Linked DNA regions of Homo sapiens: all the other regions are linked to region 3. Evidence: promoter capture Hi-C in human tissues and cell types (Jung and others, 2019). All regions are on one chromosome and are shown on one strand. Each heading gives the region's core, a stretch centred on a gene start or on the middle of the fragment in contact. The rest is flanking DNA. Distances are from core to core; before and after follow the strand shown. Region 1 overlaps TMTC4 (transmembrane O-mannosyltransferase targeting cadherins 4). Region 2 overlaps TMTC4 (transmembrane O-mannosyltransferase targeting cadherins 4). Region 3 holds the start of TM9SF2 (transmembrane 9 superfamily member 2).

The links. Contacts are between HindIII fragments. The study calls those that stand out against the background at their distance.
Region 1: a contact is called between a fragment that was not itself captured here and the fragment with the promoter of TM9SF2 in region 3, in 1 of the 25 tissues and cell types used here (dorsolateral prefrontal cortex).
Region 2: a fragment that was not itself captured here is called in contact with the fragment with the promoter of TM9SF2 in region 3 in 1 of the 25 tissues and cell types used here (dorsolateral prefrontal cortex).

Annotation. Positions count from the first base shown.
Region 1 is chr13:100,627,774-100,630,473 of GRCh38, forward strand. The region is part of intron 12 of TMTC4 (transmembrane O-mannosyltransferase targeting cadherins 4); the gene reads right to left. Among named protein-coding and RNA genes, the nearest start is that of GGACT, 40 kb to the left of the region's middle. The HindIII fragment of the contact is 3,249 bases long and covers 1-2,700 here.
Region 2 is chr13:100,610,910-100,613,609 of GRCh38, forward strand. It overlaps TMTC4 (transmembrane O-mannosyltransferase targeting cadherins 4), which reads right to left. Exons shown (of 19, transcript NM_032813.5): 17 at 1,489-1,601. Among named protein-coding and RNA genes, the nearest start is that of GGACT, 23 kb to the left of the region's middle. The HindIII fragment of the contact is 6,599 bases long and covers 1-2,700 here.
Region 3 is chr13:99,500,137-99,502,836 of GRCh38, forward strand. TM9SF2 (transmembrane 9 superfamily member 2) reads left to right here and starts at 1,336. Exons shown (of 17, transcript NM_004800.3): 1 at 1,336-1,641. The coding sequence starts at 1,471. LINC00449 (long intergenic non-protein coding RNA 449) reads right to left here and starts at 927. Exons shown (of 2, transcript NR_133664.1): 1 at 259-927. RefSeq lists enhancers at 1,042-1,221, 1,128-1,716. The HindIII fragment of the contact is 7,318 bases long and covers 1-2,266 here.

The DNA.
Region 1 (2,700 bases), core at 117-2,616, 1.1 Mb after region 3:
GCCAGGGGTGGGAGGGTGGCAGAGGTCACCACCATGTTTATGTTCATATGAAACAAATCCCGTGGTGGGAAAGAGATGTGAGTGGGGGAGAAGCAGGTGTCAGGGGCTCCAGGGAGGCTGTGGCTGCAGTCCTAGGAGAGAGGTCAGCAGACTGAACTAGGGTGGTGGTGAATCTGTGGAGGGGTTTGAAGAACAGTGAGGAAGCAAAAAGCATACAAATTGGTGACCAACTGATAGGAGAGAGGGAAGAGTGTCAAGAACAAGTGGTAGGTTCCCAACATTCAGGACAGAATGGGTGTGATGACTTTCAAGAGATGTGATGGGTGACCAGCCTTGTTTAGGGGTACAGGATAGGCTGACGTGGAAGTCCATGGTCACCATCCATCTCCAGAGTTCTTTCATTTTGCAAATCTGAAACTCTGTACCCATTCTCACCTCCACCAGACCCTGGCAACCTCCATTCATTTTCCGTCTCTATGCATTTGACTCCCACGTGCCTCATGTAAGTGGAATTGTACAGGATTTGTCCATTTGTGTCACATGTGTCAGAATTTCCTTCCTTTTGTGGCTGAATAATATTCCCTTGCATGAGTACACCACATTCTGTTTGTCCATTTGTCCCTGGATGGACACCTGGGTAGCTTCTACTTTTTAGCTATTGTGAATAACGCTGCTGTGAACATGGGTGTACAAATCTCTCTGAGTCTCTGCTTTCGGTCCTTTTGGATATTTGCCTGGAAATTGAATTGTTGGATCACAGAATTCTGTTTTTAATTTTTTGAGGTACTAACATGGATAGTTTTATGTTATAGGAATTTTACCTCCATTTAAAAAAAAGAGAGAATGAGGAAAGGATTTTCAATGACTGAAGAGGGGGTGAAGTAGGCTGGATAGAATGGGGCTCCCAGCTGCCAATCTACTAGGAATTCTCAGGTCACCTTGGAACGAGGGCATCAGGGAAGCCAACGTCTGGTAGTTTCTCAACTAAACATGGGCTTAGAATAAATGACAAAGAAAAAAGTGGGGACTTGAACTAAGCCTAAGGCAGCCAGACTACACAAGCTCACGAAGACTACAATAAAAAGAATTTGTTGGCCGGGCGCAGTGCCTCATGCCTGTAATCCTAGTACTGCAGGAGGCCAAAATGGGTAGATCACCTGAGGTCAGGAGTTCGAGACCAGCGTGTCCAACATGGTGAAACCCCATCTCTACTAAAAATACAAAAATTAGCTGGGTGTGGTAGTGCACGCCTGTAATCTCAGCTACTTGGGAGGGTGAGACAGGAGAATCGCTTGAACCCAGGAGTTGGAGGCTGCAGTGAGGCAAGAGCATGCCACTGCACTTCAGCCAGGGCGACAGAGCAAGACTCTGTCTCACAAAAAGAAAAAGAAAAAGTGAAAGAAAAAGAAAAGTATTTGTTGATGATCAAAAGCTCCTTTCGGGACTTTACAATACAAAGTGAGTAGCAAGCCCAGAGGAGACGATGCTACAGAAACTCACTCAATCAGAAGCATGAAGTGTGGGTGCTGCTAACAACAGTCACGGTGAATGGTAAGATGGTGTGTAGCTGGCACACCTTGAGTGGCACCCACCAGCTGGGAGCGGTGTTGCGTGCTGTGTGATCGCGGTCTTTCCTCACGGTGGCTCGAGGCCGTGGCTGCTGTGACCCTCTCTTCTGAGTTGATAAACTGCTTCGGGGCCATTCAGCGTCTCATCTAGGGCTGTGAAGTTGGATTAGAACCAGGCTCTGAAGCCTGTGTTTCTTCCCACTAGATAATACACATTGATTACAGTGCTGGGGGAAGATGAGGGTGACTGCTCGAGGCACTTTCTAGATCCACTCATTCATACCACTGGCCTTTTTCCTAAGTAAAATCACATTTCTTTTTATATGTTATTGTCCCCCAAAGTTTACATTAAACCCTCAGCACCCCAGAATGAAAATGTATTTGGAGATAGGGTCTTTAAAGAGGTAAGTAAGGTCAAATGAGGTCATATGGTTGGGCCCCCATCCATATGACCCCAGTCCAGTATGAATGGCGTCCTTACAGAAAGAGGAAATATGGACACAGACACCAGAGATATGTGTGCACAGAAGACACACCACGTGAGGACACAGGGGGAAGGTGCCGTCTGCAAGCTAAGGAGAGAGGCCTCACAAGAAACCAACCCTGCTGACACCCTGATGTGACAATTCCAGCATTTACAACAGTGAGAAAATTAACTGTGGTCTAAGCCACCCAATCTGTGTGTATGTGTGTGTGTGTGTGTGTGTGTGTGTGTGTGTGTGTGTATGTGTGTGTGTGTGTTTATAGCAGCCTGAGAAAACTAATAAAATCTTGAAATACAGAAGTGGTTTAAACACATTCAAATAACATTATGTCTGAACACTGCTTCCAAATGACCCCTGAAAACACAACCACATCCTGCCTTATCCATCTTAACCTACAGTTACAGCACTTCGTCAAACATACTTAGATTTCTGGAAGAATATGCAGCAGTGCATATTAACAGGTTTTCTTAACTGCCAATTTAAAAGCATATAGATTTATGTTTACCCACTCTGATGAAAGGACTCACAAGCAGAGAAATTGCAGGTGATAAAAATGTGTGTACTACCATGCACCACACAGTAGAATTTAAGCTTTCTGCATCAAATTATTGTCCATTCATAGGTATTTTTGTCCTCAAATTGTAGCT
Region 2 (2,700 bases), core at 198-2,697, 1.1 Mb after region 3:
TTCCCCTGCTACACAAGTAGATTCATAAAAACTAAAACTAAGCCCTCTTCAAAAAGCTATTTCTGGAGTAAAATCTAGAAATTTAAAAAATGCATAGTGAAGCTATTCAACTCCCCAACATTATAAAACTAGAGATATGCATGAAATTATCTTACCATTGTTATTGAAAATTATACTGATAATGACATGTAATAAACAGAAAAAGAGAAGTGAATAACACTGGACAGATATTAGCTAGTTGCTGCCTTTAGGTCTTATACATAGGCTGAGTGATTGAAATAAGATATAGCCCCTGATTCTGAAATAAAGGTATTTCTCTTAAGAAACGACTAAGGCACTGCTTCTGTGATATCTGTGTTTAACACCCAGGATGCCAGCTAAAAATGCATATTCCAGCTGGGCGTGGTGGCTCATGCCTGTAATCTCAGCACTTTGGGAAGCCGAGGAGGGTGGATCACAAGGTCAGGAGATCAAGACCATCCTGGCTAACACGGTGAAACCCTGTCTCTTCTAAAAATACAAAACATTAGCCGGGCGTGGTGGCGGGCGCCTATAGTCCCAGCCACTCGGGAGGCTGAGGCAGGAGAATGGCGTGAACCCGGGAGGCGGAGCTTGCAGAGAGCCGAGATGGCGCCACTGCACTCCAGCCTGGGCGAAAGAGCGAGACTCCGTCTCAAAAAAAACAAAAAAAATAAAAAAACAACAAAAAAATGCATATTCCCTGACCTGACCTAACCCACGAAGCCAATCCCTTCTGGGGAGAATCTGGGCATCTCTACTTTAACAAGCTTCCTCAGTGATTCTGATAGACAAAATTAAAGTTTACAACCAGTCCCCTTCAACACACAGGGAGTTATGCATAGCCTATTCCTGCTCCACCCTGGCTGCCAACTGGAGCAAAGATTTAGTATCTTGTGGTTTTTGTTGGTCAGAAAACTCTGGGCCTTGCTGGTGGCCTATATAACTCAGATAAAGAAAAACCTGGAAGCAGCAAGAACCAGTCATGCATCCTCCATGGGCTGGTTATTCTTTTGTGCAGAAGATGGAACCTGCAGATAAAACCTAGAGCTCCAGCCCATGTGCAAGTGACAGAGTCAAACCCTGTTGTGCTAGGGTGGGGCTGGGGCAGGGGCACCTCCGGGGATGCACTGTGGCTGCCCTGAGTCCTCCTCCTGCACCAGCCTGCCCGGCCTCTGAGGCCAAACATTCCACAACTCCCTGCCTGCTCCCACCCCTTCCTTGGGCTTCTCTTCCTCTCTCCACGTGTGAACCACAGTGGTTAATTCTGATGAGAAAGGACACTGGGTTTGGCCCCACACCGCTGTCTTTGAAGCAACTTTTCCAGGAAACAAACTGGCCAAGCCACATTGGTGCACCACTGCCACTGTTTTGGCCTGATTCCTAATTTAACTGGGCAGAAGTAACACTTACGTCTTCTGTCAGATGCTGGCACTAACTGCAAGAACTCACAGCCTGCGGTTTACGCACCTTGTATTTCTGGGATTTCCCCAGCACGTTTGCCAACGAGAACATGAGAGAGTGATCATTAGGTATTAATTCCAGTGCCTCTCTTCCAACTGCTTCAGCTTGGGCTAAATTACCTGGGAGTGAAAAATGGAAAAATAAAAGACATGTTAATGTTGTACTCGCATTTTAGCTTCTCTCTATAACTAACAGGGTTTATGTGCACAGCACATGACAATTATGAATAAACTACTTAAGAAAATCTGTGTAGATCATGTAATACACACACACACACACACACACACACACACACACACACACGACGTTATCAGTGGCAAAGCCACTGCAATTCAGCACATTTCTGACACAACACATAAACAGCTTTTGATTAACTTCTGTAAAACCATCTAAAACCTAGTTTTAATTTTTTCCCAGATACCAGTTATACCCAAACAAATCTGCAAAATAAGAGGATGACAGTAACACTTTCATAACTGAGAATTTATCACATTGAAGTATACATTCTATATTTTCCCTAGAAACAACCATATATCTCTGCTCTACACCATGATCAAATTAACACCATCATTAACATATTTTTACTGACACATAACTGTACATATTGATGGGGTGCATGTGATACTTTGATACATGCATACAATGTGTAGTGATCAAATTAAGGTACTTAAGACAACCATCGCCTCAAATATTGATCATTTCTTTACGTTAGGAACATTTCACATCTTCTAGTTCTTGTGAAATATATCATAAAGTGTTAACTACAGTCACCCTACTGTGCAGTGGAACACTAGAACTGACTCCTATCTGTGTTTGTACCCATTAACCAGCCTATCTTTATCCCCGCCCCCTTCCCAGCCCCTAGGAACTACTGTTCTGCTCTCTAGTTCCACGAGGTCCATTTTTCCAGATCCCCCATGAGTGAGAGCATGTGATATTTGCCTTTCTGTGCCTAACACCATCATTTCTTAAAAGACGTTTGGATTTTTAAAGTGAAGGAGGCAGAGTAACTCCTAATTGATTGAATCTGGTCTGCTCAGGGATAGGAAACCAGATCTTCAAGTCGATTAGCATTATATAAAAAGAAAGAATCCATGGCTCCAAGTGTAGACTGAGGGGGCTCCTTTGAGTGAAGTCCCTGAACTTGGGGCATGGACCTAGTACTATCCATGTCATTAGCCCCAAGGCCATTCTTGCTCACTTCTGAGTGCTCCCAAC
Region 3 (2,700 bases), core at 86-2,585:
ACCTAGGCACAATTTTCTGCTCAGGCCCTACCAGATTAGTTTTTGTTATCAAAAAAAAAAAAAAAAGTGCCATTCCTTGGGCCAAGCTATGTGCTCAGCACTTTCCCTCCATTTTTGATTTAATCTTCACAACAACCTTAAGATGAACGTTCTTTTCTACTTCCCAGTTCTCTTGATTAACTTGGCTACCCCACTATATGGATCAATTTGCAGGGTCCTAGGTCCCTTTGAAAATCTGATGAAAGTTATAAACCTTACCTGGGAAAAAAGTACAAACACCCGCAAGAACTTGAAATAGGAGTTCACTGGCCCTCAACTTTCTGAGCTTACTATTTCACAAACCTGCCTATTCTTGAATTCTGAGCTGGAGGTCATGATTCTCTCTTATGTACTTTAAGATGATGCACTCTTCCGAAGTTTTTGATTGAACTCTAGTGGCTAACTGAATTGACTTTTTCAGATCACTAAAAAGCTTCTCCTTGAAAAATACTCAGAAGATGCAACACACACACACACACACGTGTGTGCACTTACACACGCGGACACCGTCTCACATCATCAGTGGGAAAAGTGATAGAATCTTGCTAAAGGCTGATCATACCATATTAATCCGATTCGCCAGAACTACTTTCTTCACTGAGCTCTCAGGTATGCTCGGGTCTTCCTTTAAAGAAAATAAATGTCAACGCTACACTCTATCCTACTCCCATTTTCCTCCTCACCCCATTTCCACTCTCCCTTAAAGAGATGTGTGCACACAATCACTGCCCAATGCAAGAATGCACCACTGCATCCAATGCTTGGAAATTGTCCGTGAAGATGCCTTTGAGTAGCTGTCTATTTGAGGATTTGTGGCTAATTCCTCCCCATTTGTTTCCTTAGCCTGCTCCCAACCAGGTGTCTCCAGAACTTTTTCTCTCCGCCACCAACTCCGCCTCCAGACAGACCGCAGGTGCTTTCTGTCATAGGGACTGGCGTGCCGCGGACAGTGTGACAAAGAAACTGTATGATGGATATGAGAACTTCGTAAGACCCAGCAGCAAACGGGGAGCGGCTGGCGAGCGCTCCACAGCCCCCAAGCGTGGGAGCTCTAGATCGGAATTTGTAATTTGGAATTGGAACGTGAGCGCCGGAACAGCTCTCCCAGCAACCACCTCTCCCAGCAACCACCTCAGCTGGCGCGCGGAAAACCCGGAAAGTGGATTTCGCCCCCGCTCCCTCCCGGAAACTCCTCCTGGTGCCTGCGACCGTTCTCACTGAGCATGTGCAGACGGCGGTGCGCATGCTCTGTTGCGGTCCGCTTCGGTTTCTGTTGCGGGACCCGGGGTGTCTCCTAGCGCAACCGGAACTAGCCTTCTGGGGGCCGGCTTCCTTTATCTCTGGCGGCCTTGTAGTCGTCTCCGAGACTCCCCACCCCTCCTTCCCTCTTGACCCCCTAGGTTTGATTGCCCTTTCCCCGAAACAACTATCATGAGCGCGAGGCTGCCGGTGTTGTCTCCACCTCGGTGGCCGCGGCTGTTGCTGCTGTCGCTGCTCCTGCTGGGGGCGGTTCCTGGCCCGCGCCGGAGCGGCGCTTTCTACCTGCCCGGCCTGGCGCCCGTCAACTTCTGCGACGAAGAAAAAAAGAGCGACGAGTGCAAGGTGGGTGAGGCCTGACGAGCCCTCTGATGCACTGTTGGAAGGGGAAGTCGTCCCTATCCGGGGGAGCTGATCCTCGGGTGGGAGCGAGGGAAGGGGGCGTAGCAGCGGGTGGGGTTGAGTTTCCCCAGAAGCTTTTGGGGTCTGCTGGGCTGTGGGTGGGGGGCTCTGAAACAGCCCTTGCAAGGGTAGTTTCTGGAGGACGCAGTGGGCCTCAGACTCGCCTCCCGTCTTGCGGGCCAAGTGGCACGAGCAGCTGTATTCAGTTTTCCTGGAACAGGGACCGTGTGGAGCGCCCTTGGAGTTGGGCTTCACGCCTCAGAGCTTTGGAGTTGGATGTATGCAGGTCCACGCGTGAGTGTTCGCTCACAGCCCTGTAACATGTACGCTGAGGAAGCGGGTGACCGACTCCCTACATGTGAGCAACACTCAGCCTAGTTAACAGTTTCCATTAGCTTTTAACTTCATTGCTTCCTGTTTAATTGCATTTTCCTGGAACCTTCTAGTTGGTTAGGAGAGCTTGTTCTTTCTAGGACTTTGATATCTCGCTTCACAATTAGAAGTTGGTTCCTTATTTGTGGAGTATAACACCCAGAGCCACACAAAGTGCATTAATAAAGAGTTGCTGTAATGGTTGAGGCACTTGATTTCTGAGTTTTAAGTGTAAAAGATTTTAATACACAAAAAAAGATACGAGGTCTCACTATTTTCTCTGAGATGGTTTTAAACACTTAAAAGGGGCAAATGGTGGGAGAAACTGGTGTTTTCCTAGGGCAAGTCTTGAAAACTTTGATCTCTTACAACATTCACACTCAAGGTTTTCAGTTTAATTGCTAGTAAAAGAGGCGTAAATAAAGTAACCTGCTTTTAGGTTATATGGTGTAGGGCTTTACAGTATACATACACAATTATTTCGTTAAGTTTATTTAAAACTTAACATTTGGGGGATGAGGATCTCTTTGAAACCTTTAATGATTTCAACAATTCAAATAATCGTTCAACAAACGTTTACAATCTATAAATAGGCTTATTTATTAAGTTTGATTTTTTTAAGCTGGTGTT